Regions from separate parts of the Homo sapiens genome. Here regions 2, 3 and 4 are each linked to region 1. The links are contacts of gene promoters, found by promoter capture Hi-C in blood cells and fetal thymus (Javierre and others, 2016). All regions are on one chromosome and are shown on one strand. Each heading gives the region's core, a stretch centred on a gene start or on the middle of the fragment in contact. The rest is flanking DNA. Distances are from core to core; before and after follow the strand shown.

What was found. Contacts are between HindIII fragments. The CHiCAGO score rates a contact against its expected background, and 5 or more counts as called.
Region 2: a contact is called between a fragment that was not itself captured here and the fragment with the promoter of ZNF444 in region 1, in 1 of 17 cell types (total CD4 T cells). The highest score is 6.1, in total CD4 T cells.
Region 3: a contact is called between a fragment that was not itself captured here and the fragment with the promoter of ZNF444 in region 1, in 2 of 17 cell types (total CD4 T cells and naive CD8 T cells). The highest score is 6.4, in total CD4 T cells.
Region 4: a fragment that was not itself captured here is called in contact with the fragment with the promoter of ZNF444 in region 1 in 1 of 17 cell types (non-activated CD4 T cells); the score reaches 5.8 in non-activated CD4 T cells.

Annotation. Positions count from the first base shown.
Region 1 is chr19:56,138,124-56,144,180 of GRCh38, forward strand. It overlaps ZNF444 (zinc finger protein 444), which reads left to right and starts at 3,164. Exons shown (of 5, transcript NM_018337.4): 1 at 3,164-3,234. RefSeq lists enhancers at 2,627-2,956, 2,987-3,126. The HindIII fragment of the contact is 17,292 bases long and covers 1-6,057 here.
Region 2 is chr19:51,356,113-51,362,169 of GRCh38, forward strand. All of the region lies in intron 1 of ETFB (electron transfer flavoprotein subunit beta), which reads right to left. Among named protein-coding and RNA genes, the nearest start is that of ETFB, 7.2 kb to the right of the region's middle. The HindIII fragment of the contact is 200 bases long and covers 3,332-3,531 here.
Region 3 is chr19:51,571,824-51,577,880 of GRCh38, forward strand. ZNF175 (zinc finger protein 175) reads left to right here. Exons shown (of 5, transcript NM_007147.4): 2 at 1,327-1,578. The coding sequence starts at 1,507. Among named protein-coding and RNA genes, the nearest start is that of ZNF175, 3.6 kb to the left of the region's middle. The HindIII fragment of the contact is 1,968 bases long and covers 1,029-2,996 here.
Region 4 is chr19:51,693,428-51,699,484 of GRCh38, forward strand. SPACA6 (sperm acrosome associated 6) reads left to right here. Exons shown (of 9, transcript NM_001316972.2): 1 at 1-313; 2 at 1,051-1,128. The coding sequence starts at 100. It overlaps SPACA6-AS1 (SPACA6 antisense RNA 1), which reads right to left and starts at 29. Exons shown (of 2, transcript NR_108100.1): 1 at 1-29. The HindIII fragment of the contact is 2,015 bases long and covers 251-2,265 here.

The sequences.
Region 1 (6,057 bases), core at 1,914-4,413:
TTAAAAAACAAAATTCCTCTGATAAATGGGTAAACAAAATATGGTCTGTGTATGCAACAGAATATTAGGCAATCTTTAAAAGGAAGGAGATTTTGACATACACTACAACATGGATTAACCTTGAGGACATTCTGCCAAGTTAAATAAGTCAGTCACAAAAAACAAATACGGTATGATTCCACTTACATGAAGTATTAATGTGGTCAAAATCACAGAAACTGGGCTGGGCATGGTGGCTCACACCTGTAATCCCAACACTTTGGGAGGCTGAGGCAGGTGGATCACTTGAGACCAGGAGTTTAAACCCAGCCTGGGTAACATGGCAAAACGCTGTCCCTACAAAAAAAAGAAAAAAAAAAATTAGCTGGGCGTGGTTGTGTGCACCTGTAGTCTCAGCTACTCGGGAGGCCAATGTGGGAGAATCCCTTGAGCCTGGGAAGCAGAAGTCACAGTGAGCCAAGACTGAGCCACTGGACTCCAGTCTGGCCAACAGATTCAGACCCTGTCTCAAATAAATAAATTACAGAAACTGATAACAGAATGGTGGTTGGCCAGGAGCTCGGGGGAGAGAGGAATGGGTGGTTCACATTTAATGGGTACAATTTCAATTTGGGAAGATGAAAAATTCGGGAAATGGACAGTAGTGATGATTGCACAGCTTGAATGTACTTTTTTTTTTTTTTTTTTTTTTGAGACAGAGTCTGACTCTGTTGCCCGGACTGAAGTGCAGCGGTGCAATCTTAGCTCACTGCAACCTCCACCTTCCAGGTTCAAGAGATTCTCTGGCCTCACCCTCCCGAGTAGCTGGGATTACAGGTGCCCGCCACCATGCCCAGCTAATTTTTGTATTTTTAGTAGAGACGGGGTTTCACCATGTTGGCCAGGGTGGTCTCGAACTCCTAACTTCTGATCCGCACGCCTCGGTCTCCCAAAGTGCTGGGATTACAGGCGTGAGCCACCACACCCGGCCTAGCTTGAATGTACTTAATGCTACTGAACTGTACCTTAAAAATGATTAAGATGGTAATTTTTATCTTGTATATATTTTACCACAATTAAAAAAAAAAGATCCCTTTGGCGCTGTGTGGAGCAGGAACTGAGGGGCAGGAGGCAGAAGAGGCGAGAGTGGAAGCATGACAGTGTCTAAAGAGGCCATGGGGACTTAAACCAGGTGGTAGCCATAGACGGGAGAGCTGTGGACAGATTCTGCATCTATTTTGAAGACAGAGCCAATAGGACCTGATGATAGATTGCATGTGGATGGTGATGAAAAAGAGGAATTGGCTGGGCATGGTGGTTCACGCTTGCAATCACAGCATTTTGGGAGGCCGAGGAGGCAGATCACTTGAGGCCAGGAGTTCGAGACCAGCCTGGCCAACATGGCAAACCCCATCTCTATTAAAAATACAAAAATTAGCTGGGCATGGTGGTGCACGCCTGTAGTCCTGGCTACTCAGGAGGATGCAGCATGAGAATCACTTGAGACTGGGAGTCGGAGGTTGCAGTGAGCTGTGATCGCACCACTGCACTCCAGCCTGGGCAACACAGCCAGACCCTGTATCAAAAAACAAAACAAAACAAAACAAAAAACCAAAAAAAAAAAAAGAAAAAAGAATCAAGGGCTGCTTTTCTATTTTTGGCCTCAACATTTGGGTGAAGATGGACTTGCTTTCTAAGATGGTGGAGTAATGGGAAGGAACAAATTTCTTCGCAAGGTGGGGGAGAGAGTGAAAAATTATCTACTGCCCACCTTAGGTTTGAGATGCCTATTAAGAAATCCAAGAGGAGATGTCAAGTAGGCCATCGGATATGAGTGGGAAGAAGATCAGCGTGCTCTAGGAGCAGAAAGGAGGCATGACTGGAACTCATTAAACACGAGGAGAAGACAGTGGTAGACAGGTGGGCCAGGGCAGATTAGGCCACCGTGGGCAAACTGGTCACAAAGTTCTGAGTCAGCCACTCATCGCTTGTGAAACCTGGGGAAAGTTGTTCATTTATGAATATAAGACGAACAACTTCCATGTAATGAATGCTTGTTATGGGTAAGCCACTGTCTTCGTTTTTATGGCGCGGAGTCTTCAGATCAGCCGGGGAGGTGGAGGATGGGAGGGGGATTCTCTTATCCTTGTTGTACGGAGGAGGAAATACGCTGCGGGCTGGGGTAGGGCTTGTATGAGCCATAATCAGGTCTGGAACTGTCTAGATAAAAACTTCAGCTGATCTCTTAGGATGTCTGTCTGCTCTAAAATCCAAATATGCTTCTTCACAGTTCTGAGATGCAGAAACTGAGGCCTCAGGACGGGGCAGTAGTCTGTCCAATAGGGGCACAGCGAGGACGCGTGGCAGGTAGCGCTGTCCCCCAATTCACCCCAGGGGAAACTGAGGCTAAAGAGAGGGCGGTGTCCTGTCCAGGTTCACACACAGGAAGAGCCAAACCGAGGCCCCCGCGCTGGCCCCCTCCTGAGCCACTGCCCACCCCGGAACAGGAGGGCAGCCTGCTCACGTCCTGATTCCTGGCACCGACATCGGCCCTTAAGTTCTGCCCGGGTGGAGAGGGAGGACAAAAAAAAATGCGATCCGTAGTCAAGGAGACGTAGCCTGCACTCCTGATTGGCGCAGAACTCTAGCCTGGTCTCCTCCTCCTCCTCCTCTTCGCTTGCCAGCTTCTAGAGCTCCGGAGGCCCCACCTCCCAAATGCCCGGCGGTGCCCGGCCTCCCCTGATCTCCACAACAACGCCGCCATGGCTCCTCCTCCTCCTCCCTCTTTTTTTCCCGGCACTTCTGCGCATGTCCAGGGCCCGCGCGCAGACCACTGGGAAGCCTCCTCGTGCATTCTGGGAAATGTAGTCCAAAGCCTGTCGCGCTCAGACAGCCCGCGACATTTGCGCCGTCAAGGCCAAATAGGCTGCAGACGACGCTTTCGCGTATCTTGGGAAATGTAGTTCCAGTGTTGGCGAAGACGCCACGCGGTGACAAACAGGAGTAAGGCGGTCCCCAGGCGAGGGCCAATTGGCAGCCGCCTTTGCCGCGATGCTTCCTGGGAGTTGTAGTTCGGGGTGAGGCCGGGGCTTCATGGGGAGTTGTTGGGCTGAACGAGCGGCTCGGAGTATGGGATTGGGGGAGGGGGACGGGGGAGTTTGGCGCAAAGCCTGCTGGGGCATGGAGTCCCGGCGAGCTTTGTGCGCATGTGCGGGGAGGTGAGGGGGCTTGGGGGGCCTCGCCTGAGAGAGTGAGGTGAGCGAGGGGGGAAGGAGGGAGGGATTGGGTGGGGGCGGTTGGACGAGGGAGGGACCAGAGGTTGGATGGGAAGAGGGGCGCCGGGGGCCTCAGGAGGGAAAGATGGGAGACTTGCGGGGAGGGGAGGAGAAGGGGGCTGAGTGATGGGGAAGGGGCTGGGAGAGGGAACTAGAGGGGGAGGGACTTGGAGAGGGGGAGGGGTGGATAGTGGGAGGGGGTCGTGGATCCTCGAGGTCCTGAACGCGGGAGAGAAATGCTGAGGGAGAGGACGGGGGAGGGGCGCCTGGGGGAGGGGGAGGGGCGGGACGGGGGAGGGACAGGTGGGGGAGGGGAAGGGGACCCTAGCAGAGGGTGGGCTGTGAGATGAAAGCTGAGTGGGAAGCTGGACCCTACAAAGGAGTCTGGGGGCGCCGGGACCGGACCCCTTCGGAAAGGTTTGCGGGAAGGGGCTTCCGGGGACGATGGTTATTGTTGTAACGTAGATACGGCGCAGGTGGCTCGTTTTGCGCGCTGCTTCTACAAGTGCAACTTTTACAGAGTTGTGAGATTCCTGAAGATAAGAATCGTTGCTCTGTTTTGCTGCTTTCTCAGTGCGGAGCATCTGCCTTTTTAGCTTGTTGCAAGGCATTATTACCTTCGGTAATATGTGTAAAGTGCTTAGAAACTCTGTTTATTGTCAAATGAAGTTGACCCCCGCCACCTCTACCCCAGTCAGGATGGAGTCACCCTCCTCTATATCCGATTTTAACGCCTATTCCAATGTATACTTAGTATTTTAATCTGCGTGCGTGTTCATAGCAGTGTCCCCTGGGCACCTCGCAGGGAAACTTCGACAAAGTAACCCTAAGTCTGACTGGACACTTACTAGCCAGGTGTGGTTCTCAGCATTTTTGTTCTCCTTCTATCACTTTACAGTCAACGAAATGGAGATACAGGGTATTACAAAAGGTGCCTTGTACCTCGTCCAAGGACACAGAGCTGGTAGGAGGCAGAGCTGGAATTTGCCCCAGAGCCTTTGTGCCGTAGGTAAATATTTGTCCAGTGGGCCAGCGGCTCTCAACCAGGAGTGGTTTTGTCCCCCAGGGGACATGTGGCAATGTCTGGAGACTTTTTTTTTGGTTTTTCCAACTTGGGAAGTGCTACTGGCATCTCATGAAAAGAGGCAGAGATGCTGGTAGACATCGTATGTTGCACAGGATAGCCCGCCACGACACAAGTGCCATTAATGTCGAGGTTGGGAACCTAGAGTAGACAAACCGGTCTTTGTCGAGCACTTAGCCTTTGGAGGCTGCTTCTAACTCCTGCTCCCAGCAGCCTCTTGAGAGGAAGGAGCTCTTGTTAGTCCTGTGTCTCAGGTGGAGAAATGAAGCACAGAGGGGGTAAGTCACACGTCCACAGTCACACTGCTGATGAGTGGCAGAGCTGGAAGTTGAAGCCAGGCAGCCAGACTCCACAGCCTCTTAGCCATGATATTAACCCAGCATATGTGGGTGCTGGTGCCGGGGTACTAGGTGGAACTGGTGTGGACTCTGGAGTCACATCTGGGTCCCATTTGTGGCTCCTTCACTCTCTGAGCATCTCCCTATGGTAAGAGGGGACCCATCTCCCCAGCTCACAGGTCTGTTGGGAAGGTTGGGTGGGGCAGTATAAGACACTAGCCACTCAGTGGCTGTCTTCAAGGCATCCAGGGTGCCTGGCTCTGGACTGGACTGTGCTTTGCGGACACAGACAGCTAGACAGCAGGGTTACAGCTGTTGAATGCACATAGCACAGGGCGCTCATTGGATGGTAGGGTGGATTGACATGGTGGAAGGCCCTTACTTAACAGCATGTGCTTTCTTGGGAGCAGGCCTTGTGCTGGATGGCCCCACCGACCCAGTGAAGAGCTGGACTTGGTCACTGCCCCAGAGAGCTCACTTTCTGGACAGCCCAGGGTGTAGTGACCTGTGATCACCTCTGAGATTGCAAACAGGGTCAGCTTGATGGCCTGTGGCATTGCTCTCTGGCGGAAATTCCTCCTTAGTCCCAGAGGGATCTTTTTTATAGCAGAGCAGGCATCTGTGTGGCTTTTGAGACTTGGATCTGGCCTGGGTCTTCCGATAAGTCTTTCTGCCTGCTCCCAGGTTCATCAGCCCTTAAACTGATGGATGGGTGGGGTGGGAGGTGATGCTGTGGCCTGGCTGTGGATGTGCAAGTCCAGGCTCTGCCACGTGTTAGCTGAGTGACTTTAGGTAAGACATCTCCCCTTGCTCCTGCTGCAACTTGGGGGTAGTAACACCAACCTCATGGGATTGATCAGCCTGTAAAGTTTATTTGAGTGCTAGCCAGAATGCTGGGGTTGGAATATGGAGTCTCTCGCCCACATGAATTGTAGTGAAGAAAGTCAGCACACAGATATCGTAACACTAGATCTTGTTAAATGCTGAAAGAAAACTAATAAGGGTGACGTCTTAGCAACTGGGGGAAGGGCACGTGGGTGCAGCATCGGAGGGGGTGATCTGGGGAGGCTCTCCAAGGGGGTAATAATTGCATGGAGGCCTCAGTCATGAGAAGGAGTCAGGTAAGCAAAGATTGGGGGGAAAGAGTGATCCAGCGGGAGGCAGCACAGGTGCAGAGGCCCTGTGGTGGGCACTGGCCTTCGGTCCAAGAAGATAGAAAGTGAGCCAGACCGGGCACAGTGGCTCACTCCTGTAATCCCAGCACTTTGAGAGGCTGAGGTGGGAGGATCACTTGAGTCCAGCAGTTTGAGACCAGCCTGGGCAATATAGTGAGACCCTGTCTCTACAAAAAATATAAAAATTAGCTGGGTGTGTTGGTGCC
Region 2 (6,057 bases), core at 2,182-4,681, 4.8 Mb before region 1:
ATAATTTTTTAAAAAAAAAGCTTTTGGAATCAACTGTAAAAATGGCAACCCGCTTGGGCTTCCCTCTCCTCTGTGGAGAGCTTTCTTCTTTTGCTTATTAAACTTTCGCTCCAACCTCACCTTTTGGGTGGTCTATGCTCTTTAATTCTCTTGGTTGTGAAACGAGCTCGGATAACACCTTAGACAACGTGACCAGTGACCCTGACCTATTTCACAAATGCCACTGCAGTGTAAGGGTCAGTGACCAATACTGACCCTGCCTACACACACACCATACTCTGACATTTTCTACCCTTTTTCGGAAAAATGCCAGCCCTCTGCCTGGATGTCATGATCACACATGGTCACAACCTAATTTGGAAAACACCAGCATGAAAGACCTCTTTGCTAAACAGACAAGGGAGGTAAGGGAGGTGGGTGGCAAACCCCACCCATTTGCTTCTGCACATCATTTTTGTCTCTCCTGGGCCCCACTGTGTGCCTGGCTCTGAGCTGGATCCTGGGGACACCATCATGTGCCAGGGAGAGAGGCTTCCGGTGTAGACCAGGGTGTAGCGTGAACCACTAACCACTCTCCTATTAGTTTCTCTCGGCTGCCGTAACAAATCACCATATATTTGGTGGCTTAGAATCTTACAGCTCTGGAGGCCAGAAGTCCAAAGTCAGTGTCACCAGGGTGAGACCAAGGGGTCTGCAGGCCCCGGGAGGAACACGTTTCTTGCCTCCTCCAGCTTCTGCTGACACTCCCTGGCTTGTGGCTGCATCGCTTTATCTTCAATGCCAGCATCCTCAGCTCTGTCTTCACGTGGCCTTCTCCTCTCTCTGCGTGTCTAGTCTCCCTCTGTCTCTCTCTTATAAGGACTCTTGAGATGGCATTCAGGGCCCACCTAAATAATCCAGGATAATGCCCCCATCTCAAGATGCTTAATTTAATCACATCTGCAAAGACCCTGTTTCTAATTTCTTTTTTTTTTTTTTTTAGATGGGCTCTCGCTCTGTCGCCCAGGCTGGAGTACAGTGGTGAAATCTCGGCTCACTGCAACCTCTGCCTCCCGGGTTCAAGCAATTTGCCTGCCTCAGCCTCCCAAGTAGCTGGGATTACAGGCATGCATCACCACGCCTGGCTAATTTTTGTATTTTTAGTAGAGACAGGGTTTCACCATGTTGGCCAGGCTGGTCTTGAACTCCTGACCTCAGGTGATCTGCTCTCCTCGGCCTCCCAAAGTGCTGGGATTACAGGCATAAGCCAACATGGCCAGCCTGCAAAGACCCTGTTTCTAAGTGATTTCCCCTTCTCAGGTGCCAGGGATTGAAACCTGGCTGTTTTGGAGGGCTATTTTATTTCTTGGCCCACCACAATCCTTTTTTTCTTTCTTTCTTTTTTTTTTTTTTTTTGAGATGGAGTCTTGCTCTGTTGTCCAGGATGGAGAGCAGTGGCATGATCTCAGCTCATTGCAACCTCTGCCTCCCCAGTTCAAGCGATTCTCCTGCCTCAGCCTCCTGAGTAGCTGTGATTACAGGTGCCCACCACCACGCCCAGCTAATTTTTTGTATTTTTAATAGAGACAGGGTTTCACTATGTTGGCCAGGCTGGTCTCGAACTCCCGATCTCTGGTGATCCACCCACCTCGGCCTCTCAAAGGCAGGGGATTACAGGCGTGAGCCACCGCTCCTGGCCCAACCTGAGTTTTTATAAGGTCATTCTGGATTCTTGGTGGAGAAAATTGGAAAAGGATGAGAGGAAGTGGGGAGAGAGCTGGGTGGCTGTTTGTCACCAAAGTGAGAGGTGACAGTGGCTCAGACAGCTGTGACAGCAGAGACAGATGCAAGAGGTTTCTGGAGGTGCAACTGACAGGCCATGGTTCGTGATGGGAAGATGACACCAAAAAGGGGCTTCCAGTCAGTACATCAGCCAGAGCCGGGAAGACGGCGAGTTTGGTTTGGGGCACAAATTTTTAAAAAGCCTCCAGGGACATCCACAGAAGCCTTGCTAGGGAGCTGCCCCATTTGGCCTGGAGCCTGCCCTCTTCCTCTTCTCCCATGTGGCCGCCACCCAGGGCTTGGCCAGAGCAGATCTCGGGTGGCAGCTGAGCCTGGTGAGGACACTGGGATGCTCTTGCTATTTCCCTGCCCCTTTTTCTCTGGGGCTGTGGGTGTAACTGTTCCTCCCACAGGCAGGACAGAATCCGAGATGAGAAGGTGGGACCCATAAGGGGCTTCCCACTCTGGCTGTGCCTCATGGAGAGGGTAACATTAAAAGATGGAGGACTGAGACCGGGCGCAGTGGCTCCTGTCTGTAATCCCAGAAATTTGGGAGGCCAAGGTGGGAGGATCACTTGTGCCCAGGAGTTGGATACTAGCCTGGGCAACAGGTTCTACAAACAACAACAACAAAAACAAAAACAGCTGGGCGTGGTGGCTCATGCCTGTAATCCCAGCACTTTGGGAGGCCAAGGTGGGCGGATCACCTGAGGTCAAGAGTTCAAGACCAGCCTGGCCAACATGGCAAAACCCCATCTCTACTAAAAATAAAAATAAAATAAAAAATTAGCCGGGCATGGTAGTGCACGCCTGTAATTGCAGCTACTCAGAGGCTGGGGCAGGGAGAATTGCTTGAACCCAGGAGGTGGAGGTTGTAATGAGCCAAGATTGCGCCACGGCACTCCAGCCTGGGCGACAGAGCAAGACTCCGCCTCAAAACAAACAAACAAACAACAACAAAAAAAAAAAAAAAAAAACAGCCAGGTATGGTGGCACACACCTGTAGTCCCAGCTACTCAGGAGGCTGAGGCGGGAGGATCACCTGAGCCCAGGAGGTCAAGGGTGCAGTGAGCCGTGATCATGCCACTACATGTAACCTGGGTGACAGAGCAAGACCTCATCTCAAAAAAGAAAAAGAAAAAGAAAAAGGAGAAAGAGGAGAAGGAGCTGGAAGAGGAGAGGAAAGAGAAAGAACTGTTATTTTCATCTCTCTCGTTGCCCAGGCTGGAGTGCAGAGGTGCCACCTTGCCTTACTGCAACCTCCACCTCCCGGGCTCAGGTGATCCTCCCACTTCAGCCTCCCCAGTAGCTGGGACCACAGGCGGGCACCATCATGCCGGGCTAATTTTTTTTTTTTTACTTTTTGTAGAGAAAGGATTTCCCCGTGTTTCCCAGGCTGGTCTGGAACTCCTGGCCTAAAGTGATCCGCCTGCTTCAGCCTACCAAAGTGATGGGATTACAGGTGTGAGTCGCAGTGCCTGGCCTTTTTTCTTAAAAAAAAAAACACAACATAGGAGTTGCCCCTTTAAGACAGAAAAGAACCTCATCCACCCATCAGTAAGAGGCCCCAAGCTTCTTGCTGTGAGTCAGGGAGGCTTCTGAAGGGCCTCAAGCCACATCTTGCTCTTGCTCTGGCAGAACTCCCAGCCCTAAGCTCCTGATTCCCAGGCTCCTGACTCCTGAGGAGAAAGGGTAAGAACTTTCCAGACACACACACACACACGCACGCACACACACCTGAGGAAACAAACTAGCTCATCTTCTCAATTAAGCTTGAGTTGATTTTAAGCTTCAAAAACAGTTTAGTTATATTACATAAGTCAGGAAACAATGGTAGGGCTGAAAAATGATAGCTTGTTTGTTTTTTAAATAATGATGGCTCATGCCTGTAATCCCAGCACCTTAGGAGACTGAGGAAGGAGGATCACTGGAGCCCAGGATTTCAAGACCAGCCTGGGCAACATAGAGAGACTTCATCTCTACCAAAAAACAAAATTAGCAGGTCATGGTGGCGTGCACCTGTAGTCCCAGCTACTGAGGAGGCTGAGGTGGGAGGACGGCTTGAACCCAGGAGGGTCGAGGCTGCAGCGAGCTGTGACTGTACCACTCTAGCCTGGGTGACAGAGCTAGACCTTGTCTCAAAAAGAAAAAAAAAAAGTTTTATAATTGAGGTAAATCATTCAGCATTAAGTGCTGGCTTTCTCTTAAAGAGACGACATATCCACCAATATCAAAAACAGCCTCAAAGCTGGGCGTGGCGGCTCACACCTGTAATCCCAGCACTTTGTGGGGCTGAGGTGGGTGGATCACTTGTGGTCAGGAGTTCGAGACCAGCCTGGCCAACATGGTAAAACCCCATCTCTACTAAAAATACAAAAATTAGTCGAGCGTTTTAGCACATGCCTGTAATTCCAGCTAGTTGGGAGGCTGAGGGAGGAGAATCACTTGAACCCGGGAGGTGGAGGTTGCAGTGAGCAGGGATCACATCAATGCACTCCAGCCTGGGTGACAGACCAGATTCTATCTCAAAAAAAAAAAAAGAAAAGAAAAAAAAAATTTTTTTAAAAGCAGCACTGACCCATGCAGACAACGAGTCAAGGGTTTTATATGCATTAACTCGTTTGACCATCCTAGTAGCCTGTGAGGTTGGTTACTGCCATTACCTCTCATTTTACAGATGAGGCAACTGAGGCACAGAGAGGCCAAGTACCTTGGCCAGGGCCACTGAGCATGGAAGTGGCAGGACCACGGGTCTAACCCCAAATCTGTCTTGGGAACTGTGAGACTCTGAAAGAGGCTACGTGTGCCCACGGTGTTAGGAGAGCCAGTCTTCCTATTTGTTGTCCACTGCAGGCAAGAGGGATTTTCTTCTCTTCTCTTTTCTTTCTCTCTTTCTCTCTCTCTCTCTCTCTCTCTTTCTCTTTCTTTTTGATACAGAGTCTTGTTCTGTTGCCCAGGCTGGGGTGCAGTAGTATGATCTTGGCTCACTGCAAACTCCACCTTCTGGGTTCAAGCGATTCTCCTGCCTCAGCCTCCCCAGTAGCTGGGACTACAGGCGCCTGCCACCACGCCTGGCTAATTTTTTGTATTTTTAGTAGAGACAAGGTCTCACCGTGTTAGCCAGGATGGTCTCAATCTCCTAACCTTGTGATCCACCCGCCTCAGCCTCCCAAAGTGCTGAGATTACACGTGTGGGCCACCGCGCCCGGCCCACGCCTGGCTAATTTTTTTATTTTTAGTAGAGATGGGGTTTCGTCATGTTGGCCAGGCTGGTCTCGAACTCCTGACCTCAGGTGATCCGCCCACCTCGGCCTCCCAAAATGCTGGAATTACAGGTGTGAGCCACCACGCCCGGCCCAAGAGGGATTTTATAAAGTGATTTTCGACAGCTCTTCCTGAACCCCTGACACAGCTCAAGGACTTGTGTGGTTCTGTCCTCTAGGCTTTTCTGTCAAGCGAGTCCCTGGGCACGTGCTAGGGCACTCAGCAAGCAGGACAGCCAAGGCCAGGGAGCCACCCCAGTGACAGATCACTAACTCGGCGGGGGGCAGACAGAGAACTCGTCCCTGAGGTGACATGTGAGCCCCACGTGTGCCCTGTCAGACAAGGTGGCCTTGCTGAGAGCAGGAGGGGCAAGTGCGTGGAGCCCAAAGAGGAAAACCTGAAGAAACACCAGGCGCTCCCAGACGAGAGGGTGTGGCTGGTCGGGGTTGGGCCCCGAGATGGAAACACGTTTTCTGGGCCTGGAGTTTCTATCCTGTGGGGTCATCTCTAAGAAAATGAATCCCAGATAATGAATACAAAATTGCCCAGCCTCTCCTGGGTTTTTTTTTTTTTTTTTTTTTTTGTGAGACGGAGTCTCCCTCTGTCACCCAGGCTGGAGTGCAGTGGCACGATCTCGGTTCACTGCAACCTCCGCCTCCCTGGTTCAAGCGATTCTTCTGCCTCAGCCCCCCGAGTAGCTGGGACTACGGGCACGCGCCGCCATGCCCAGCTAATTTTTGTATTTTTAGTAGAGACAGAGTTTCACTCTGTTGGCTAGGATGGTCTTGAACTCCTGACCTCGTGATCCACCCACCTCAGCCTCCCAAAGTGTGTGTTTACAGGCGTGAGCCACCAGGCCCAGCCTTTCTCCTGGGGTCTTGAAAGAGGCCCTGAAGGTTAAGCTTCATCAGCTTCCTGTAAAATGTGCCCCTGAACAGGACAGGGTGTTACTGAGTTGCCAAATACCTATTAAAATGTTAGATACACGCACATACCCAGAAACATACACACAGCCGGACACACATACACACA
Region 3 (6,057 bases), core at 763-3,262, 4.6 Mb before region 1:
GGACTTTGAGGATCACACTGTAACACTCTCAGGGGACCAGTGATGGGCAACCTATAGGAATCAGTAGAGTGGGGTTGCCAGGGGTAGCCTATGGCAGCCAGTTGACTGGAGGCGTAGGGGGTCAATGATGGGGATTTGTGAGGGTGAATGCATTGCTTTCTAGGCAGTGAGTGTTGGGGTCCTTCAGGGATTGGTGGGTGGGTCAGTGTTGGCCTCTTCTTGGGTCCCTTGGACATGGTAAGGATCAGTAATTGACAGTTGAGCACATCGATGATGGTTTCCTATTGGGGCATTTCATTTGGACCCCTATGTTGGGGATTATTTGTCGTTTTATGGAAACCAGAAAATTGTGCTCGCTGGGAAACATTTCTTGGCTATCAGGGCAGTAAAGATTTCAGAAGCCTGTGCCATGTCAGTGACTGGGAGGCATTTTGGAACTTTCTGGCAGCCCTGTAGTACACTCATTGGGGATTTCTGAAAGTCAGTCCTGTCAGTGATTGCATTCAGGTGCGGTGGGGGCAACTTATTGTGGACAGGCAAGAAATGGTAACTGGAGGCCCTGATGCATGTCTGCAAATTTTCTGTGTCAAGATGGGGATTGGGACAGTGATTTTAAGTTTTAGCTCTAGTCAGAAGAGGCTGGTCTGTGTGTGGTGTATTATGGACGGGGACTGAAAAGTCCAGAAGCTCAGAATAGGTACACCAGACAGAGCCACCTCCCGGCCTGAGTTCTATGAAGGCAACAGAAAGAGGAAATGGTGTTTCTGGAAGCTGGCCACGTATGGGTACATGAGATAGTGGAGACAGTGTACAGTTTAGAACAAGGCAGATGTGGGGCTGATTCCCTGTTTTTCCATTTACAGACTGAGTAACCTTCAGGCAAATTATGTAACAGCACACAGCCTCATTATCCTCATCCTCAAAATGGGTATGATAATGCCCATGATATTTAGCTGACAATTAAATTGACAACTTTCTTTTTTTAATTCATATTTATCACGTGCCAGGCAGGCACTGAGGACTTGACAAGCTTCATCTTGGTTAAGTTTCCCAACATCTGTGATAAATACCTGCATTTTCATTTTGGAAACTACAACTAAAGTAATATTTTCATATTCTCACAGTGAAAATGTGGCAAAGCTGCAATGAATTCACCATTTAGTCCAGACTCAGTCTTTATTTTTAACCCTGACTAATAACTAGAGTTGGGCTTTCTGAACTTTGTCTACTCCAATGTCTGACACAGTGACTTCACCTCAGTGCCCTCAGGAAATATTTGTGGAGTGAATGTTGAATGAGTGACCATGTACTCATTGCTTTTCCAAGGCTTCTGCAGAACCCCCAGGTCAGGCCACATCATTGAGGCTGCAGGATCTCTCTTCATAGCCCAGTACGACTCTCCGCCGTGTCCCTGGTTGGAAAATCCAAACACCTATCCAGCTTCTGGCTCCTGGGAAAAGTGGAGTTGTCAGCAAGAGAGACCGAGAGTAGAAGCCCAGAGTGGAGATGCCTGCTGATGTGAATTTATCCCAGAAGCCTCAGGTCCTGGGTCCAGAGAAGCAGGATGGATCTTGCGAGGTAAACAGGGGCAGCCCTGGGGATAGTTCTCCAGAACGTGAGGGCAGACACAGGATGCAGCAGGTCTGGGCTCCCTGCTCCTGAGTCAGTCTTGAGCCTCCTGTCAAGCGAGGACCACAGAGGCTGATGTTTCCACATTCATAGGCTATCTGTGTTCTAGAGGAAACCATGAACTGGCTGATAAAAGAGGATAGTAGAGGGTTGGCCTTGGGTCAAGAAAGAAGAAACTGTAGTCCCTGGTCTGATCAGAAGCCCCAGTCATAGGATGGAAAAGCTGACTCTTTCCTGCTAAGCACTGGTTCTGCTCCTTCATCCACCACTGGGTCTTTGAAAAATTTCAAGTGGTCCCCCCCACCAAATTCCTTGCTTGGTCCATGGGGTTTGGCCCGTTTTTCCTCTGTTCTCATAAGGTGCGGCAAAATCTCCTTCCTTTGTAATTTAAATAGTCACAGGGAGGTAGAGTGAGAAGAGGCTTTTAAGGACCATGTGAAGAGGCTTTTAAACACTTTTTCCTGTTTAAAAAGGTGAACAAAAAATGCTGGAAAACAGTGTTTCCAGATTGCCCACAGATAGAAATAGTCAGGATTTGGTAACAAGAAATCAGAATTCTTGGTATAGTCAAGATTTCCTGAAATCCTAAATTATTCTGTGTATCTCTTGATGCTTTATTTACAAGTCTTTAAATAGTATGTGACTATAATAGTAAACAGTGTACCATTGTTCTGTGATGGGTTTATAACCAAATTTACAGAGATGTTCTGTTTTTTAAAAAAAGTATAATAAATATGTGTGTTATTATCCTGAACCAATATATTGTGAGATTATATATTTCAGTAACCTGTTAAAATCATCTCAACCTGCTAGAAACATTTGATAATAGAAAGTATTAAAAGAAGGGAACATTAACACAAAATAAATTGCACATATAAATCATTTTCAAAATTGTAAATACCCCAAATATTTAAAAGTCGTTCTTAAAAGAAAAATTGAAACATACAAGTTTAGGTGGGGCACAGTGGCTCATGCACTTTGGGAGGCCGAGGCGGGCGGATCACTTGAGCCCAGGAGTTGGAGACCAGCCTGGGCAACATGGCGAGACTCTACAAAAATACAAAAATTAGCCAGGTGTGGTGGCATGCACCTGTAGTCCCAGCTACTGAGTACGTTGACGTGGGAGGATCACCTGAGCTTGAGGCGGTCAAGGTTGCAGTGAGCTGCAATCATGACACTACACTCCAGCCTGGGCAATAGAGTGAGACCCTGTCTCAAAACAAAACAAGTTTAAAACATGAAATTGTCTAAGTCTTTGTGACAGCAGTGCAGATGCACAAACGTTTCTCTCATTTGCATTGATGTTGGTCAACTTGCGTGTTCAGAACATCTTCAAGTTTAGCGTTTTAGGACACATGTTCAATATAAGCTTTTTTCCTTTTTTAACAATGAAATTTTTTTTCTGCTTGACCTGATTTCCAGTTTATCATTTGAATCAATACTGCTGTCGCTAATTCAGATTTTCCATCAGTGTCTGAATTCATGTCAGAGTATATCCCAGTACCATGCACATTATCTTCTCTTTGTGGTGTGTATTTCCCTCTGCTCTGGACAGTACTATTTTTATTTTGTTATTTTTATCTTTTCTAATGTGATGGAAATAAAGATAGTATAGTGTTTTAATTTGCATTACTTTGTTTACAAACAGGCTTTTTTTTCATAATTTTATTGGTCAATTACTTGTCTTTAGTGAGTTACTTTTTCTTACCTTTTGATTTATATTTTGGTTTGGTTTAGCCTCCGGATTTTTAGAGAGGTTTTTTTTTTTTTTTTTTTTTTTTTGAGACGGAGTCTCGCTCTGAAGCGCAGGCTGGAGTGCAGTGGCGCAATCTCTGCTCACTGCAAGCTGCACCTCCCGGGTTAACGCCGTTCTCCTGCCTTAGCCTCCTGAATAGCTGGGAGTACAGGCGCCTGACAGCACTGCTGGCTAATTTTTTTGTATTTTTAGTAGAGATGAGGTTTCACCATGTTAGCCAAGATGGTCTTGATCTCCTGACCTCGTGATCCGCCTGCCTCAGTGTCCCAAGAGAGTTCTTACACAGTAATAACCTAAGGTCCTTTTTGCATATGTTTGTAAATACTTTTTGTTACTTTTTCCTTTGAAAGTAGGTTTTAGTTTTGTTTGAACATAGGAAAGAGGATCAGATGGTTTTGTGAAGCCTGTAATCTTTTAAAAGGGCTGTCACTTGCTATATTTTTACCAAAGTTCCAGCTCCTCCCAGGCAATCACATTTTACATTTTTAGCTAATTATTTTGGCATTTACCTCCTAATCTTTTAGTGACATGCTTATATTGCTGCCTCTTGGATTGTTAATTAACACGTTAATTAATTAAGAAACATGTCATTAAAAGGTTTGCTTTTACCCGCTTCCTCATACTTTCACCCCCAACACCTGCTTTCCTTGCCCATCCTTCTCTAGAACTGGTTCAGATTCTGATCAGGTCAATCTTCCTTGTTTGTGATTATGACTGTGTAAACTATATTCAGAGCTGCCTGTATAGACACCCTGATAACTCTCTGCCTGCATAACTTACGGTTTTTCCCTGGAGCACACAATTTTATGGATTATTTACTTGCCTATATACATGTTAATGTATTATACCATTTTCTCCAAGTGTGTACACACTGTCTTCATAAATTGAATTTGTTACTAGGTAATTGCAAACCCTCGCTATTTCAGGGACAGTTTTTTTTTTTGTTTTTTTTTTTTTTTGAGACAGAGTTTCGCTCTTGTCTCCCAGGCTGGAGTGCAATGGCGCGATCTTGGCTCACTGCAACCTCTCCTCCTGGGTTCAAGCCATTCTCCTGCCTCACTCTCCTGAGTAGCTGGGATTACAGGCACTTGCCACCACGCCTGGCTAATTTTTATATTTTTAGTAGAAACAGGGTTTCACCATGTTGGGCAGGCTGGTCTCAAACTCCTGACTTCAGGTGATCCGCCAGCCTCGGCCTCCCAAAGTGCTGGGATTACAGGCATGAGCCACCACACCCGGCCTTCAGGAACAGTTTTAATCCTCATAACTTTGCGAGGTACTGCTGCCATTATCCCCCCTTTACAGACAAGAAGACTGAGGCACAGAATGAAATAAGTGGCTCAAGTTTACATAGTCAGCAAGCAGCCAGCCTGGGATTGAAGGCAGGCAGTTTGCTTGAGGGTTGGGGCTGTCAATGCCATCTCCTTGAGGAAACCTTTCCTATTGCTTTTTTGTCTTGATGCGATTGGACCTGGCTGTTCTCCTGGCGCCTCACGCTGTCTTCTCATGGTGCTGTGTTCACCATCACCTGGGAATTCTTTTTTTCTCTGTCAAGTGTCCAGTTCCTTGTGTCTTGAATCCTTTCTTGAATCCTTTGGCTTTCTCTTCCACGGTTTACCGTTACTCTCATTTCGTGAAAGTGCATCCCCTAGGAGTTCTTGGGGACGGTACACGGCAGTAAATCCTGTGAGAACTTATCTGAACATGTCTGTTCAGATAACGGAGACTAAACTTAAGAATAGGAGAATCACTTGACCCAGGAGGTTGAGGCTGCAGTGAGCTGTGATGGCACCACTGCACTCCATCCTGGGTGACAGAGTGACATCCTGTCTCAAAAAACAAAAACGAAAACAAAAGACCTGAGAGGTTTACATATATGAGCATGACATGAAAGTGAAATGATATGAAAATGAATGATATGAAAATGTCACGCCAAAAAGCAAAGATCATATATTTGCATATTTAATAGAAAGATGTCACGGAAAATGACTTGATTTACCCTCACACTAAGTTGATCTTTGCCTGGGTTCATAGGTTGGAAATCATTTTTTTCTTCCTAAAACACCCCATATACTACTTCCTTACCACACACATATAGTCTCTCTGCTCTCAAATCCTGAAACTCTTTATTTTTAAGCTGTTAGTCTCCATTTAAAAGGGTTTTTATGCTCTGTCATTTTCTATTTCTTTGGTTTTGGACCCTCTTTCTGGAAGAATTTCTCAACTTTATTTTCTAGCCCTCCGATAATCATTACTGCCTTAAAAAATTTTTAAGAGCTTTTAGATATGAATACTCCTTTTAATGACATGATGTTTTTGTTTAATGATTGAACTATCTTACCTAAGGATATTTGAGATATTTTAAAATGTAATTTTATGAATAGATAATACACAGCATTCACAAATTAAAACATCATGAAAAGTAATTTTTTTACAAAATACTCCTTTCTCTCTCTTTTTTTTTTTTTTTTTTGAGATGGAGTCTCACTCTGTCGCCCAGGCTGGAGTGCAGTGGCACGATCTTGGCTCACTGCAAGCTCCGCCTCCCGGGTTCACGCCATTCTCCTGCTTCAGCCTCCCGAGTAGCTGGGACTAAAGGCGCCCGCCACCACACCAAGCTAATTTTTTGTATTTTTAGTAGAGATGGGGTTTCACCGTGTTAGCCAGGATGG
Region 4 (6,057 bases), core at 8-2,507, 4.4 Mb before region 1:
TGAAACCTGACCTCTGACCCCAGACCACTGGCCCTTCCCCCGCCCTGTGGTGACTTCATAAAGGTTACTAGCTTCTCCCCTGGCCTTGAGACCCACACGATGGCCCTGCTGGCTCTGGCCAGTGCCGTCCCGTCTGCCCTGCTGGCCCTGGCTGTCTTCAGGGTGCCCGCCTGGGCCTGTCTCCTCTGCTTCACAACCTACTCTGAGCGCCTCCGCATCTGCCAGATGTTTGTTGGGATGCGGAGCCCCAAGCTTGAAGAGTGTGAGGAGGCCTTCACGGCCGCCTTCCAGGGCCTCTCTGACACCGAAATCAGTGAGGAGACCATCCACACTTCATCAGTGTCCTGGGGAAGGTGCAGAGGGAGGGCAGGAGAGGCCCAGAGGGTCAGGCTGAGGGACAGACAGAGAGAAACAGTCAGAGGAGAAAGGCTCAAAGACCATGAGAACAACAGAGACTTAGGGACAGAGAGACACAGACAGGGGAAGACAGCAGGGCAAAGACTCAGAGAGGGGAGGATGGAGAGTCAGAGAGGGGAAGATGGAGACTCAGAGAGGGGGAGGATGGAGACTCAGAGAGAGAGGAAGATGGAGACTCGGAAAGATGGAGACTCAGGAGTATGGAGAGTCAGAGAGGGGAGGATGGACACTCGGGAGGATGGAGAGTCAGGAGGATGGAGACTCATAGAAAGGGGAGGATGGAGAGTCAGGAGAGGTTGGAGACTGGAGAGGGAATAGAGACCCAGAGAGGGGAGGATGGAGACTCAGAGGGTGGAAGATGGAGACTCAAAGAGGATGGAAACCCAGAGAGAGGAGGACAGAGATGAGGCAGAGACTAGGGGAAGCAGGATAGCGACTGGTCGGGGGCAGAGACTCAGGGAGGATAGAGACTTGGGAGGGACTCAGGAAGCATAGCGACTGTGGGGCAAAGAGTCAGAGAGGGGAGGATACAGACTTGGGAGGGCAGAGACTCAGAAACAGAATGTTCGCATTAGGGACATGGTGTTGCGGGGAGCTGCCTCCCCCAGCCCCTGCTCCCTCCCTCACCGCCAGACTATGATGAGAGAAGCCACCTGCATGACACCTTCACCCAGATGACCCATGCCCTGCAGGAGCTGGCTGCTGCCCAGGGTGAGTGTGTGGGGATGGGGAGATGGGAGATGTGGACTTGGAGCCCCTAAGAAATGGGTATGTGGGAGGGCCCAGGGCAGAGGAAGGAGGCCCCCAGAGTTGGGCAGTGATCCGGGAGGGGAAAGCTGGGAAGACATTGAGCTCAGCTACTTGTCCAAACGAAGGCTGAAGGCAGCTCTAAGAGCCAGGGGCTGAAGGTGGTGAGGGGGAAGGGACGCTGCAGAAATTGCCTAGAGCTGGAAGTCCAGATGGGGTCGGGTAGGCATAGGTTCTGCCATGGCTGCATGGCTCACACTCTTACTGGCTATGAAGTTCTGGGTGTGTCACTGCCCCTCTCCTGGCCTCAACTTACCCATCTGTAAAGTGGGACAATCTTCTTGCCTCCTAGGATGGCCATGGAGCTCAGTGCAGGGGTTGGGGCTGCCTGATGAGCCTGATCTTAGGGAAGGCATCTTCCTCTAGGATAGAACACACACACACTCGCACACAGACACGCTCAGAGACATACACTCACACTCACACACACACACAGATTTCTTATAAAGTGATTCCACATTTTTGAGGTGTGAGGCAATTAGAGGGCGGGAAAACAGGAACAGCAGAGTGGATCACTCAGGTGACAGCAGTGAAAAGAGACAAGGTGTGACTGTCCTGGTGAGACAGGCACATGTGACAGCCTTGAGGTGTGTGGCTGTGCGAAGAGACCTCAGGGCTGGGGGCCACGCAATGCCGATGGGCAGCATGGGCGGTAATCATGCCTGATCACCATGGCCATGATCCCCACGAGGTGCCAGACCCTGGAACTGTGGAGGCTCGGAGTTGCAGGAGTTACAGAGCCCTGCGCTATAGAATAAACTGGCTTCCTCTTAGGTCCAGGAGCTCAGGGCTTATTCCCACACCCACAGTCGCTCCTTTTGCTTCCTGCTTTGCCCTCCAAGCGTCCTGTCAACAATCCCGGAAGAGGGAAGGTTCCCATCCACCCAGGGGGCATCCAGGGCCAGCCTGGAGAAGGCCTCAGCTGTGGCTCTCCCCATCTCCACCCTAAAGGGAGACCTGAGGCCCTAAACCTCTCCATGTGGGGGTGTGCAGGATTCCAAGAAATGCCCTTTCTCCCCACATAGGCTGCCTTGTTACAGAAGCTTTTGAAAAGATGAGGAACCTTTGGATCTGGGAATGGAAGCCTTCTGTGGGGCCGCATGGGGGACAAACTTGGAGGGGAGAGAGAAGAGGCTGGGTGAGGGTCCAGGCCAGAGCGGAGGCCCGAGTGGGGGCTGGGGCCGTGAAGGTGGAGAAGGGCCAGGGCCAGAGAGTTAGGTCTGCTGGGCTGTTTTGGGAAGCATAGAGAACAGCATCTGAGACAGGTCCTGCTCTGTGCCTGTTGGGCGGTGGGTCATCACCGAAATAAGGAGCCTGAGAGAAAGAGCCGGGGGCAGATGATAAGCTGGGTTAGAAGGCAGTGACTTTGAGGGGTCCCAGGGACGTTTAGGAGGCAGCTAGATACCTAGGTGCAGAGTTCAGCAGAAAAGTCAGAGAGTGTTGAGTCTCTTTCCTCAGGGCGCTGGGGAGCTGCAGCAGGAGTGTGAGCAGTGAAGAAGTAGGGGCAGCTCTGGGTGTAGAAAGAACCCTCTGGGGTCGTGTCAAAGATGGACCAGAGGGAGAGTCTGGAGGCCGGGAGAAGCTGGTGCAATACGTTCAATTATACTTACTGAATGTGCCAGGAACAACCGCTGTGACCAAAACTGCAAACCACCTGTCCTCGGGTTGCTTATATTGGGGTGGAGTCTGGGGAGATAGACAATAAACATAATCGATAAAATATCTTAGTATCTTAGTATGTCAGTTGGTGATCCCTGCCATGGAGGAAAACAGAGAAGGGGAAGAGAAAGGGGTGATAGTTTTTTTGTTTTTTTGAGATAGGGTCTCACTTTGTCACCCAGGCTGGATTGCAGTGATGTGATTATACCTCACTACAGCTTCAAACTCCTGGGCTCAAGCGATCTTCCTGCCTCAGCCTCCCAAGTAGCTGGGACTATAGGTGTGCGCCACCATCTTTGGCTAATTTTTTAAATAGTTTGTAATGATGGTGTCTTGTTATGTTGCATGGGTTGGTCTTGAACTCCTGGGCTCAAGTGATCTTCCCACCTCAGCCTCCCAAAGTGCTGGGATTACAGGCATGAACTACCGTACCTGGCTGGGTGATAATTTTAAATAGGTTGGTCAGGGCAGGTGGAAATGACAGGGTCCAGTTGAGCAAAGACCTGAGCAAGGTGACAGTGACAGCGACAGCCATGCAGATAATCTGTGGAAAGAGATTTTCAGGCCACAGGGAATAGCCAGTGCAAGACCCTGGGGCCCGTGGGGCTGGAGTAAAGGTGAAATCAGAGAGATAGCAAGGGGCCACCTCCTGTAGATCCTCATAGACAGGGGGTTCTCAAGCCCCAGCATACATCAGAATCCCCTGGGAGCTTATTTAAAATGCAGATTTCTGGGCTTCACCACCTCTGACCAGGAGGTCCAAGGTAGGGCCCAGACATGGACGTTTCTGTCAAGATCCCAGGGAATGCTGATGCTGCTGCTCCGGGAACACTCTTTGAGAATCACTGTTGTAGGCCCTTGGAATGACTTTTGTTTTTTGCTCTTGAAATGGGGGAGCTGTTGGAGGACTTTACACAGAGAGACAGGATCTGACCTGGGATTTAACAAGATCTCTCTGGCAGCTGTATGGGGCCTGGACAAAGGCAGGAAGACTTCCAGTGAGAAGCCGGCCCATGGTGGCTTGGACCAGTCACAGTGGTCCGGGGGCCCAGATGAGGTCTGAGCAGAGTGGGGTGGGCATAAGGATTTGACCGTGTGCCAGGCTTGCCCATGCGTGCAAAAGGCTGTGTTTGCCATACACAGAGTCATTCATATTAAGTATCTTCCTAAAGGATATCCTCTACCGGCCCTGTGAGGCTGGGTTTTATAGCCCCGCTTATCAGAAGGGAACGCTGGGCTCTTCTGGACAAGAACAGTAGGCCCAGGATATATTTGGAGATAGACTGGACCAGATGTAGGTGGGTGAGGGCAATGGGAAGAATCAAGGATGACTTTTGCGTCTCCTCCAGAGGGAGCAGCAGGGAGATGGAGGAGCTGATGTAGGCTGACTGCCTCTTGGTGATCCCAGGTGATCTTATTTGTATATATGTATATATAAACCATGGAGTAGATGACGTGGTACAGACTGGATGCAGTATTAGGTGTGGAGATTATGTATGCAGCGATTAGGTGTGGAGGCTCTGGAGCCTGACCACCAGGGTCAAATGTAGCCATGTGATTTTGGACCACTTCTCTAATCTCCCCATGCCTCCGTTTCCCCACCTCAAACTTGGAGATGGCAATCCTAAGTTTGCCAGCCTTCTCTAACACTCACTACGTGCTAGGAGCCATTCTACACACTTAGTGACACCATCTCATACAATCATTAAACGATGCCATGGAAGAGTGGGGATGAGGATGCTTTCATGGTTGTATGGCGTCTCATCCTCCCGCTAATTCTGTGATACAGACACTGCTGTCATCCTCATTTGATGAATGAGGAAACTGAGGATCAGGAAGGTGAAGTCACTTGGCCAAGGTCGCATGGGGAGGAGGGCTTGTGATTGATACTCAGATCTGAGACAGGTGTGCTCAAGACGGAAGCACCAGGACTCAGACCCAGATGATCTGAACCAGGGTCAGAGCTCCTGACGATATGCAACTCCTCTGGGGGAGACTTTACAACACCCACCCATGCCGCCTTATGGCCCGCTTGCTATAACCCAGGCCACTTGGCCTGTTCGGAACATTTCACTCCACTTATACTCCCCTGGTGGAGTATAAGCCCACCCGGCCACCATGGCTTACTTGGTATATCCCACGCTCACCCTGCCCATGAGTCATTTGATTTGGCACATAGAAATTCTTTGGATGACTCCTCCAACATCCTGGCCTCTCATTTGTGCACCCCAGTCTGACCACATGCTCCTGATCATCCTGCCATCTTGAGACCACACTCCTGCTCTGTGGCCAAGGAGAGACCACTGGGTCCTCATTTGGAACCCACTTCTGGGCATCAGTGCTTCCTCTCTCCAAGTGTATATCCAGTGATCATTGTTTTAGGCACTTTCTTGCCAATATCCTCAGTTCCCTCCCTTTTTGTATGGCTTTAATCACAGAGGACGCTTTCCCCTGTCCCTGCAATGGCTTTAAGCCCGTAGGAAGTTTAGCTCTCCTATATAAAGTAAGTCTTGTGGTAGGCACTTAAGGCTAATATGGCACCTCCATTTCTTGGGGATCCAAGCTCCTTCAAGACTTAATATCCCAGGGAGTAGCCCTTGTCCTCATGGTCCCGTGTGGCTGCTAGAGCTCCAACCATCAAAACAAATTTTCAGGCAGCAGGATGGATGAGGGGAACAATAAGATGGCACCACCTTCTCTGTCTTTGTTTTTTAGAGACAGGGTCTTGCTCTATTGCCCAGGCTGGGTGGAGGGCAGTGGTGCAATCATAGCTCACTACAGCCTTGAACTCCTGGGCTCAACCATCCTCCCACTTCAGCTTCCTGAGTAGCTAAGACTACAAGCACACCATCACACCTGGCTAATTTATAAAAATTTGTTTAGAGATGGTGTCTGGATATGTTGCCCAGGCTTGTCTCGAACTCCTGGCCTCAAGTGATCCTGTCACCTCAGCCTCCCGAGTAGCTGTGATTCCAGGTGCGGTACCACCTCCCTTTTAAGGCCACCTCCTGTGACTCACATAACACATCCATTTGCATCCTATGGCTACAACTTGGTCACATGACCACAACTGCAAGGAAGGCTGGGAGATGAAGCTTTTTATCTGTGTTCTGTGGATATAGGTTATAGATATATAGGTATTTGGAGGCAGTGAACAATTCCTGTGTGTTGGTT